4 separate regions of the Homo sapiens genome follow, and regions 2, 3 and 4 are each linked to region 1. Evidence: promoter capture Hi-C in 16 types of primary human blood cells and fetal thymus (Javierre and others, 2016). All regions are on one chromosome and are shown on one strand. The core of a region is centred on a gene start or on the middle of the fragment in contact, and the rest is flanking DNA. Distances in the headings are between cores, read along the strand shown. Region 1 holds the start of APIP (APAF1 interacting protein). Region 2 holds the start of NAT10 (N-acetyltransferase 10). Region 3 overlaps PAMR1 (peptidase domain containing associated with muscle regeneration 1). Region 4 overlaps PAMR1 (peptidase domain containing associated with muscle regeneration 1).

The links. Contacts are between HindIII fragments. The CHiCAGO score rates a contact against its expected background, and 5 or more counts as called.
Region 2: the fragment with the promoter of NAT10 here is called in contact with the fragment with the promoter of APIP in region 1 in 6 of 17 cell types (neutrophils, non-activated CD4 T cells, naive CD4 T cells and 3 more); the score reaches 9.7 in neutrophils.
Region 3: a fragment that was not itself captured here is called in contact with the fragment with the promoter of APIP in region 1 in 4 of 17 cell types (total CD4 T cells, naive CD4 T cells, naive B cells and 1 more); the score reaches 6.0 in total CD4 T cells.
Region 4: a fragment that was not itself captured here is called in contact with the fragment with the promoter of APIP in region 1 in 6 of 17 cell types (M0 macrophages, total CD4 T cells, naive CD4 T cells and 3 more); the score reaches 6.4 in M0 macrophages.

What each region holds. Positions count from the first base shown.
Region 1 is chr11:34,914,905-34,917,898 of GRCh38, reverse strand. APIP (APAF1 interacting protein) reads left to right here and starts at 1,520. Exons shown (of 7, transcript NM_015957.4): 1 at 1,520-1,671. The coding sequence starts at 1,615. PDHX (pyruvate dehydrogenase complex component X) reads right to left here and starts at 1,281. Exons shown (of 11, transcript NM_003477.3): 1 at 1,084-1,281. The coding sequence starts at 1,243. RefSeq lists an enhancer at 980-1,279 and silencers at 1,450-1,499, 1,520-1,859. The HindIII fragment of the contact is 9,412 bases long and covers 1-2,044 here.
Region 2 is chr11:34,104,201-34,106,900 of GRCh38, reverse strand. It overlaps NAT10 (N-acetyltransferase 10), which reads right to left and starts at 1,272. Exons shown (of 29, transcript NM_024662.3): 1 at 1,109-1,272. RefSeq lists an enhancer at 1,060-1,519. The HindIII fragment of the contact is 3,708 bases long and covers 397-2,700 here.
Region 3 is chr11:35,433,776-35,436,475 of GRCh38, reverse strand. PAMR1 (peptidase domain containing associated with muscle regeneration 1) reads left to right here. Exons shown (of 11, transcript NM_001001991.3): 9 at 341-573; 10 at 1,672-1,964. Among named protein-coding and RNA genes, the nearest start is that of SLC1A2, 16 kb to the right of the region's middle. The HindIII fragment of the contact is 9,496 bases long and covers 1-2,700 here.
Region 4 is chr11:35,466,722-35,469,421 of GRCh38, reverse strand. PAMR1 (peptidase domain containing associated with muscle regeneration 1) reads left to right here. Exons shown (of 11, transcript NM_001001991.3): 6 at 1,314-1,421. Among named protein-coding and RNA genes, the nearest start is that of SLC1A2, 49 kb to the right of the region's middle. The HindIII fragment of the contact is 1,492 bases long and covers 666-2,157 here.

The DNA of each region.
Region 1 (2,994 bases), core at 271-2,770:
CGAATCTCTAGGAGCTGGAAAAAAGTTTAATTTCAACAAACTTGGAGGAGGGAAGAGAAGGAATTCTGCACACACTGTTAAAGCACCTCTGCTCCAAGGAATATGTTATGAAACATTACACCAAAAATGAAATAAATTGTTCCCATTAAGGAACCTTTAGGAACCCCAATACACTCATCTTACCATATGACTTTGTGTGATTTTTTTTTTCTGAGCCTAAGGTAGCTCAGAATATGAAGGCAACGTCTACTAGACCTATTTAAATTAAAATTCATTCTGTAGAGTGCCAGGAACGATGATTGGCAGGTAATACGTCACACTAAAAAACGTCAGTCCTATTCTCCATCCCCGCCTCCCTCCAACCTTCTCCCAAAATAAGGAAAAATAATACCCGGCCTGCCATTTTGCATACTGTTAAATACTGCAAGAATTGTGTTAACTGCATCAATATCATTACTAAACAACAATTTTCTATAATAAATTTTTGGTATGATTTATCTCCTAAATGTTTGCTCTTTCAAGCGAATATTTGCTTGAAACATTCTCCTGGACCTTTGTCTATCGTGATGCCGTAGGAATTTACAAATTTAAGTCTTCCACGAGTCATGGCGTGGGGTAAAACTCGACTGGCCTCAATGAAAACACCTCCTAACAGAGAGAGGCCTAGAGAATAAGTAAGAACTCCCAACAGTGGCTTTTCAATCTCGGCAACCTTGGGCAGCTTTTTCTCGTCCGAGACGTTTGACAACCCTAAAGAAACCTGAGCCTTGATTGGAAAGGGGGCTGAGGGAGGAGAGTTTGGGAACCCTCTCTGCGCCTCACAAATAACCCAAATTCCAAGGCAAGGTCACAAAGCCATACAAACCAGGGGGCCTAGGGCAGAGTCGAGTTCTCTCAGCTGCCAAGAAAGCCCTTCACAGCATGCATTAGGCCAAGTCGGCGGACCCCAACCGGAGAAAGAGGAAAGGGAATAAGGAGCCCGCGCACCTTCACACCCAAAAGCAGGCCCTCAATCATAACTGCCCCTGTCCCAGGCCCATCACTCAGCTACACAGAGAAGCTGAGCGAGCCCCGGCCACTCACCCCGAAGCCACTGCGTGCTGTGAAACCATCTCCAATTAGCTCCGCGGCTTACAGACCACCCAAGAGCCCCCTTCACCAGCCCTACGCTTCGGCGGCCGGGGAAGCCCACAAGATAACGCAGCAGCCGCGGATCACAGCCCAGCCTCCAGGAGGCCGCCATCTTGACGGCCTTCTCACTGGCTGCCCGCAGCACAGCCTGATGTCCAGCATCAAGGCCCCGCCTCCCGCATGGTTGGCCACGCCCCCAGACGCTAGCGGTGCCTTTAGGTCTCTCAGACTTGAACCCCCGCCCCCCAACCCAGCCCCGCCTCCAACCACGTTGGCCTTGCCTCCCGGGAAGTCAGGTGCGCCGCTGGATATCTCAGCCGGCGGGGCCTTACCAGACCCCGGCCCCCGCCCCGTTCGCCCCGCCCCCGGGCTGCCCTCAGCGCCGCCTGATTGCATTTGCGGCCTCGCTGCCGTATCCCAGGCTAAGCGCCGCGCGCAAAGCCGTGCGGAGATTGGAGGCCGCGCGGGTCCCTGGTCTGGGCCATGTCTGGCTGTGATGCTCGGGAGGGAGACTGTTGTTCCCGGAGATGCGGCGCGCAGGTAGGGGCGGGGCCACCGGTGCCCGGTATTCCCAGGAGGAGAGGCCCAGGCGGGACCCGGCGGCTGGAGCTGGGCGCAGGGTAGCGGGCCGGGCGTTTAGCTGCGGGGCGGGGTTTCGGGCCTGGCCGTTCGCTACCCCGGCGCACCGCGACCTTGGCGTTCGGAAGCAAGGCTGCGAGGCCCCAGGAGATCAGTGGTCTCGGGCGGGGCGCTCCGATGGCGGGAGCTGGGCGCCAAACGTTGGAAAGAAGCAAATAACTGAGAGAGGAGAGCGTTTAGGTGACCTCACCGGGTATTTATCAGGAAGGCAGGCCAGAGAAGGAATCGTGAAGCACCGAAGTGGAGCTGGGGCGAAGACCGCGCCCCCCAAGCTTCTTTTCTGCGCCCTGACGACCAGTTAGGCGTTTGGGGGGACGTTTGGCACTCGGGAGACGTTTGCCGAACCGGAGCTGTGCCTCAGCTGCCAGCGCTTTGCCTTTGAGCAGTTGCTCCTTGCCTATCTCCGTTTAGATGAATTGTGGGATGATCATGGGAACGATTCTTCCTTAAGCCGAAGTCAAAGGGAAATCCACCCTCACGCTGCATGTAGTTTTCGGTCATTTACACAAACCAACAGTTTTATGGAGCGCCTTCTACACGCTCAGAGATAGGGATACGTAAGATAAATGGCCCAGGGTCTGGAGAACTAGACGAATAAGCAGTTTCAGCACAATATGATAAACCCCACCTAAGAGGCAGGGAAACCCCTCAAAATTAGTTTCCTTATTCCCCCTATCTTATTCCTCCTATCTATATCTTTCTTAGGGTTGAAAATCCTAATTAAAAAGTAGTAACTCGCGGGAGATTTCATTGCTAAACATTTGTCAACCACTTTCTTGTTTGAATAAGTGACTTCCCCAAATTAGCAAAGACGACTCTGAAAATAGAATGCTGCATAGGCAAGATTGGATGAGAGAGAGAAGATCTTGGAGACAGGACAGGTAACTGGAGATCGTTCCTGGGCAAGTGTGTATGGAGAAGTGTCCGTACCCTCAATCAGTAAATCTTAGTGTAATGTCATCAGAATGAGCATCAAAGAGAGCCTTAAGGGACCCGAGAATAAACTAGGATTCTCAAACCAAACATGGCCCACAGACAGCTTGGTGGACAGGCATGTTTTTTTTTTGCTGCACTCAATGTTCATGAAAAATTTGAGCCAACCTTTTTTTTTTTTTTTTTTTTTTTTTGACACGTTTTGCTCTTGTTGCCCAGGCTGGAGTGCAGTGGCGTGATCTCAGCTCACTGCAACTTCTGCCTCCTTGGTTCAAGCGATTTTCCTGCCTC
Region 2 (2,700 bases), core at 23-2,522, 810 kb after region 1:
CCTACTGCATTATAAACATAAAGCTCATTTACTGAAACTTACCATACCTTAACTGTCCCTTCTAACCTTCCAATCCAAACAGATTTTAGCATATGTCTTACTATAAAACACTAAGTCACTGTCAAGGACCCCAATTTATACGTAAAGGAGAAAGTATAAAGAATTCAAATATCCCGAGGCAGAAAAACGACAGACAGAATTCACACTCAAGTCTTCCTGACTCCAAAGCCTGAGCTCTTCCCAGTTCGCCAATCTTCCCAACTTGTAAACCTTGTGTTGCCGGCCACATAAAGATCCCGCAAAAATCAATCAACAACTAATTAATGGGGGCTGCCTTTTGCTCTAGCTACTGTGGGAGCCCCAGAAGTAGTACCACAAGGCCCTTGACTTCAAGCTTGCATTCTTCTTGAAGAAGGTATTTAAGAGAATGAGATGAGGAACAAGAACACAGGTAAAATTAGATGTAAAAAAAAAAAAAATAGCTATACTGAGGGACCGGTCAGATGAAGGAAGGGCTGAGATTACTATGGGCTGAAGCTGTCATGGAAGGCCTGGATGGGGAAGGCCTTGAAGGAGATGATTATTTTTCGCTCACTCATTCGTCTATCTACACATAACATCTATGTGGCAGGCACCATTTTAGGTGCACTGGCAAACAAAACCAAGTCCTGAATGTGACTGCTGAATAAAGAGTATAAAGGAATGTGCACAGTGAAGGATTTAAGAACGTGGAAGGATCTGGAATCAGATTACCCTAAGTATAATGCCCAGACCTGCAGCCAGGCACTGCGGGCAAGCTCCACGGAAAACAACTGTTGTCACCCACCCATTCACCCCGACTCCCCAGTTACAGGCACTACTTAGAGGTGGTTATCGAGCCACGCAAATCCCCGAGGACGCTCGAGAAGCACGCGCCGAGAGCGGCTGCGTATTGGAGAGGTGATTCTGTTATCTTGGAGCGCCCCAAAAGAGGGGTGGAGGACAAACGGCGTAGGCCAGGTATCCGTCCGGATGCAGAGCCTTCATCCTGAGGCCGGTCCCCTCTCGACCCAGGAAGAACACAGACACCGATCTTGGCATCCATACCCGGCCCTCCCGCGTTGGGTACCTGCGCCCCGAGCCCGGGGGATCCCAGCCAGTGGAGAAGGGGAAGCACGTGGGAGCACGGAACAACTCCGAAAGAGAAGGCACAGCTGACTGCCCCTAGCGTATGCCTGGTGTCCGGGTCACGTAGTAAGCCTGGCTCCGCGGCACGCGTCCCTCTCAGGAACTGGTAGACAGCACGTGCGCAAGCGCATTAAAGTCGCAGAGATGGCGAGCGAGAAGGGACCTTCCTCAAGGCTGTCGCTGAGTAATGACGTAAGCCACCAGAAGCGGAGCTGAGGCCTAGATGTCCACTGCGGTTGCGCATTTTAGTCCCACTGCTCGCGGTAGCTGGGTGTTGGCTGCGGTTTGCCTCTTCACTCTTCATATCCCAGCTAAAGTACCTCGGCTAAGAAGGGCAAAATAGATGTCCGCACCCCAGGGCCTGCCCACGTAGGTCCAGGGTTTTCAGCGTCAGCCTGGTTACGCGAAACGCGACGGATCCAACGATTTGTGTTCAATTTAACCGATCCCCGTTAAGTTGAGGAAACTCGGCCAACAGACCTATTTTATTGGTTTCGCTTGGCCCTCCACCCCCACAGTACTGATCTTACAGATGGGAATCCTGTAATCTACCCATGACTGCGGCCGCTGTACTTTGCAGGCTCCCATTAGGCCTGTATATGGTCGTCAAATGAAATTACTCCCCCTGGGCTTCCAGTGAACTCCAAGAACATGACTACAGGGACAACCTATACATAGTGTTGCATTCTTGACTTTGGGGCAGATCGCTGAACTTCAAAAAACATTATCAACTGCTTGATGTTTCCTCCTGGATACCGCAAATGTCTGAATCCAAACCCCTTCCCCAGATACACTTTTAATGTCATCAGCAGCACTACCCATTTAATCCAACATCCATCATGAAATTTTTTAGTTCATTCAGCAAAATGTGAATATGCCCACGCACTATTCTGCTCACAAGGGATAGTGTCCAAAATGTTCCTGCCCCTCGTGGTTAATTCTAGGTTAAGTTTTAAATGCTATTAAGCAGAAGTATCCAGTGAGTAAAGTGACTAAGGATACTATTTTAGAAACGAACACTGAAGGCCTCTGACGGGGTGACACTGGATGGAACAAGGACCTGAAATTTAGAAAGAATGAGCCCTGAGAATATGAGTGAAAAACTTCCCCGTGCCAAAGATGTACATACAAAAGCTCCAAGATGGGGGAGTCCTGGCAAAGCAGTCAGTGTGGCCAAAGCAGTGGGCAAGTGAAGGACCAGATTTAGAATTTAATTCTAGTCATGATGAGAAACCACTGGAGTTTGTGGGGGACAGGGAAATGAGAAAATCTGCTTTGCCCTCTTAAAAGGCTTCCTGTTATGCAAAAACTAAATCACAGGAAGGCAAAAGTAGAAAAAGGAGAACAATTATAAGCTATTGTAGTCACCTGTGCTAGGATGGTAGTTGTGGTAGTAGTTAGAAGTATAAGATAACTCTGGATATTCAAGTTAGAACCACGTGGACTCACTTAAGGATTAGATGCAGGTTATAAAAGTACATTGAAGATGGCACCCAAAACATTTGCTCTGAGCAACTGGATGAATGAACAACT
Region 3 (2,700 bases), core at 140-2,639, 520 kb before region 1:
CCATCTCTACTACAAATACAAAAATTAGCTGGGCGTGGTGTTGCATGTCTGTAATCCCAGCTATTCAGGAGGCTGAGGCACAAGAATTGCTTGAACCCAGGAGGTGGAGGTTGCAGTGAGCCAAGATCGCATCACTACACTCCATCCTGGAGTGAGGGACAGAGGGAGACCCTGCCTCAAAAGGCAGACAGACAGAGAGAGAGATAGAGAGAGACAGAGACAGAGATTTTTTCTGTTTCTGTAAACAAATATCTACATGGGACATGGCATGAATGCTAAAGAGGCCACAGTGACTTTCTCTCACCCTGCTCTTTCTCTGGGCCCATGTTTCCTGACCCAGGGAGACACCATTACACCAGCTATACTCAGCGGCCTTCAGCAAGCAGAAACTGCAGAGTGCCCCTACCAAGAAGCCAGCCCTTCCCTTTGGAGATCTGCCCATGGGATACCAACATCTGCATACCCAGCTCCAGTATGAGTGCATCTCACCCTTCTACCGCCGCCTGGGCAGCAGCAGGAGGACATGTCTGAGGACTGGGAAGTGGAGTGGGCGGGCACCATCCTGCATCCCTAGTGAGTCAAGGCTCATTCTTGGGCTTGAGCATGCTCAATCTTTCATGACTGCCTGAGAAAAACCATTAACCCTACTTTTTGGGAGAGCATCTCCAGTGCTTTCTCTAGTTTGGTGATATCTGAAATTCCATAGTTAGAGCTTTTTTTTTCCTTTGGCTTAACCTTACTACCCAGGAGAAATTGACTCACTAAATCTTAGAGGCATGCGTTCTTGGGTGATTCTATCATATTTACTTGGAAAAAATGGTCATTAAGTCACCAAGTGGGGAAAGGGGTTAAAGGTGCCAGAGGGCCTCAAGTTATATAATCTTGGCTACCCTGTTTAAGCCCCAATTTTTACACTCATCACCCAGTGATACTAATTAGGTACTTGTTATTAAGCAATGAGGTATTAGATTGGGCACCGGTGGCTCATGCCTGTAATCTCAGCATTTTGGGAGCCCAAGGTGGGTGGGTCATTTGAGGTCAGGAGCTCGAGACCAGCCTGGCCAACATGGTGAAACCCCATCTCTACTGAAAATATAAAAAAATAAAAATAAAAAATGTAATGAGGTATTAATTACATCATAAGGTTATGATGATGAGTACTGAGATAATATGTCAAAGTGTCCGGATTAGGGGCCTGCATTTACTAAGCTGCCTTCCCCATCCTCTTTGCGAAAGGAGAACAATATGATTTAGTTCATTGTGGTCATGACTATGAGGATAGTCATGATATTTTGAGTTTGTTTGCATGTACCATCTCATTTAATCTCCTCAAGAGCTCTGTGAGACCATTATTATTGTTCTATCCATTTTACAGGCAAGAAGACAGAGGCTCTAAAAGATTAGACAACTTGCCCAAAGTTCTATTGATAGTAAGTGCCTGGGATCAGAACTCAGGTTTCATTTGACTGCAAATCCTAGACTTTATAGCCAGCCATGTCAGGGTGGGTTGATTAATATTTAAATGCAGAAGAAAACTGGGTTACTTATCTTAGTGGTCATCATGCCCATACAGTTCACCTTTCCAGATTTGTGCTCTCTGGTTAAGTGACACATTCTCCTTTGGATGGCAAAGTCTGAGTTTATCTTACTAAGCTGGTACTTTCTCCATAGTCTGCGGGAAAATTGAGAACATCACTGCTCCAAAGACCCAAGGGTTGCGCTGGCCGTGGCAGGCAGCCATCTACAGGAGGACCAGCGGGGTGCATGACGGCAGCCTACACAAGGGAGCGTGGTTCCTAGTCTGCAGCGGTGCCCTGGTGAATGAGCGCACTGTGGTGGTGGCTGCCCACTGTGTTACTGACCTGGGGAAGGTCACCATGATCAAGACAGCAGACCTGAAAGTTGTTTTGGGGAAATTCTACCGGGATGATGACCGGGATGAGAAGACCATCCAGAGCCTACAGGTAAGAGAGGGCTTGCACTTGGAAGCTGGGGCTCTGGCTCAAAAAAACTCCAAGCACGGGAGAGCAGTGATTATACCAAGCTCTGTCCCCTTAGCATGTCAGCAGCCAGCCCAGAGCCTCGCATATAGCAGCGTTCATTATTTCATATTGAGATACTAGATGGGGGTACCTAGAAAGGCTGTGGAGTCTTTTTTCCACCTTGATTATTTTTTAAATAAGATAGAGGCAAAGGCATCTATCACTGTGGTCATCAAAAGTTAATCACCTAAGAGTAAAATGTACTTCTCCTAGTAGCACATGTTACCTGGTAGGATATGTCATAAATTAACAAATTAAAAATTAGTGAAATTATTTGTTTAATGGCTGGCTCTGCCTGAAACCGTTAGCTCCATGAATGTTGTGATTTGTCATTGTACCCTCACAGTGTGGCACAGTGCCTGGCTCAAAGTAGATTATCAATAAATACTTTTTGAATAAAAAAAGGTTAATCACCTATTACATTTGGGCACTGTCCTAGGTAGACAGAGATGTTTTACCCTAGATATACTCTTAACAAATTTACAATATATGTCTGTCTTTCCCTGACTCCCTCCCTGTCTTTTATTCCCCCACCCATCTGTCTATCCATCTATCTTTTCATCCATCCCTCCATCTATCCATCCCCTCATCCATCCATCCATCCATCCATCCCTCCATCCCTCCATCTATCCATCCATCCAGCCATCGATCCATCCAT
Region 4 (2,700 bases), core at 162-2,661, 550 kb before region 1:
AGCAAGCCAGGTAGGGGCAGCAGTGGCTGGCCAGTCTGTGAATCTGGGACTGAGGGACGGTCAGGAGAATGTCTTGCTCCTCTGAAATGACCTCCTCAACCTCCCCTGGAGAACTTTGGCAATACTGGCCTGTGTTTTATCAATGCCGTCAAATAATACCACTTCCCATTTTTCAAACATCCCTGTTTGTTCACTTGCCTTCAAGATATTTCCTCTGGCTAAAGTCACCTGTCTGCAACCTGCACATCAAAATCCATCCTTCATAGCCCCTACTACATTCTTCCTCCTCTCCTAAATCTTTTCTCTTGCTCCAACAAGCTATGGCTTTGCCCTTTTTTGAATGTCTTGTAGCATTGCCTCTTCTTTCTTCGTAATACACTAACTATATTATGCTTCAAGTCATAGTCGTTTTATATTTTTCTTCAAGTAGTTTTAATCTGGTAAATAGGACATCCTGTTCTTCCTTGTATTTCTCCCTTGTCATGTTTTGAGCAAGTACTCAAGACAGGTTTGTTGAACTGAGCCAAGGAATATACTTCTACATTGGGATAAATGAATGTAGGATTGATGGATAACACACAGATGAATGTTTCTCAAAATCTTTTCTGTAGAAAAATAGTCCCCAGGATGCCTTGTAAAATGCAGGCTTTGAGGTCAAATAAGCTTGAAATTCACAATGTATATTAGGAAACTCACAATGTATATTGGGGCATTGAACTGAGAAGTTCTGCAGTAAAGAAATCTGGTTAATTAGCATTGAATGTCAGCAACATTTCCCTAACATATTTGAGCTCAGAACCCTTAGTAAAACACATCAACATCTCAAGGGACTAATGATTACAGAATGTAAGTTTGGAAATTATTGAATATACCTTCAACAGTGTCATAATGATTGTCTTCCAGTTGCATTGCCCCAGTACCCAGGATGGTGAGCTTTTATTTGAAAAAAGATGGTCTTCAGCTACCCAAGGATGTCTCTGTCCGCTGAAACCCCTATGGGAGAGATACAAGCATGGCTCTGCTTTCATCAATTTAATGTTCTTGTTTGCATTGCCTTGTGGTCTTCAGACTATAGGAGCGTTAAGCATACTTCTGGGGCCCTCAAAAACATCAAATAATATCACCAACATTTGATATTTAATGAGTATCTATTTTAGGCATTTTCAAATAATCATAACATGAATTCAGTAAAGGGAAGAAAAAACATTGCAAGAAGACTTTAATAAGGAATTAAAAGACTTTGGTCAAGACTCTGGGCCTGAAGACATCGACTCAATGTATAGTGGCACTGAAGGATGCCTTTTCTCTTACAGCATGCTCCTCATCCCCTTGTTTCCATGACGGCACGTGCGTCCTTGACAAGGCTGGATCTTACAAGTGTGCCTGCTTGGCAGGCTATACTGGGCAGCGCTGTGAAAATCGTGAGTATGCTTCCTAAGTGGGAGTTAAGGTGTCAGATGGGGCTGGTATGGAAGGATTTTAAGAGCTTGCAGGGCCAACTCTTTCTTCATGTCTAGGATGCTCTGTCCAAGATGGTGCACAGTGTGGATACTCCCAGTGAGTGATTCTCAGAGGGGCATAGCTGCTTCTGAGTCAGGTTCTCTTCAACTTCCTAGGTTTGTCTATTGACATTTCCAACCCTCACTTGCTGCAAATACCTCTTAGAAAGATACAATGGCCTCTAGTAATATTCAGAGCTCAAAAACACTGAAAAAGGTCAACAAACTTTCCTGTGGCTCAGTCTGTATCCCTGTCCATTCTAAGATCTGTATTTTAGATTTATACTCTGGCACCATTCACAGGCTCCAATGTGACTTATTGCATAACTTGAAGCCCTGCAATGAGGGTGGTAGATATACATTTTGCTGAGCAAAATTATTAATAGCATCCTCTTTCGTGAGCAAAGTGTCTTGAATTGGATGACAAACTATATGGTCATGTTTTAACACATGTCTTATATAAGGCCTTGGTTACCAGACCGAAAACAGGTGTCACAGATGGAAGCCATCAGCATGGAATGTGATGTGCATAAGGACAAGAATTTGGGGGAGAGCAAAGGAGGACAGAGAGTCTCCTAGGTAGGTTTTCCCAAAGCAGATCGTGAGTTGAGAATGTGTACACAAGTGAAGTGTTAAGGACAGGCTCCCTGGGGAAGCTTATAGGGGTGTGGGAAGCTGGCCTGGGAAGGGAAGGAGGCCAAGTAGGGGTGCGATTTCAGGCAAAATACCAACCTCAGTGTTAACCTGTCATGAGATCTGGAATGTACATTACTCCTTAGAGTAATGTTCTAGCTTTAAGGCAAGGGATCTGGGCTTTCATATGCCCACAGCAATCAGTCATTGGGTGCGGGCTGCCCTGGGGAACTGGAGGACATAAACCGTGGGCACATATGGCTTTCTATGCATGTGGGCAAAGTGGTTCCAGTAGCCCCTGAGCAGTTCCCTGAAAGAGAATCACAAGTACAGGCCATTGGAAGTAAAATACCATAGGATGGGGAGGGGAAAAGGGCCCACAGAAACACAGAAAATAGACCCGAGGGCAGAGCACCAACAATATCTACTACAGTCACTTCTAACTAGAGTGCACAGGTACTCTGTGGTCATCTAACAGCCTGGTCTGGCAGTATTCTCTAAAGTTTGTGTATGTTTTGAATTAATTTTCACTAATGTTTTCCTTTTTTTTTTTTTTTTTTTTTGAGAT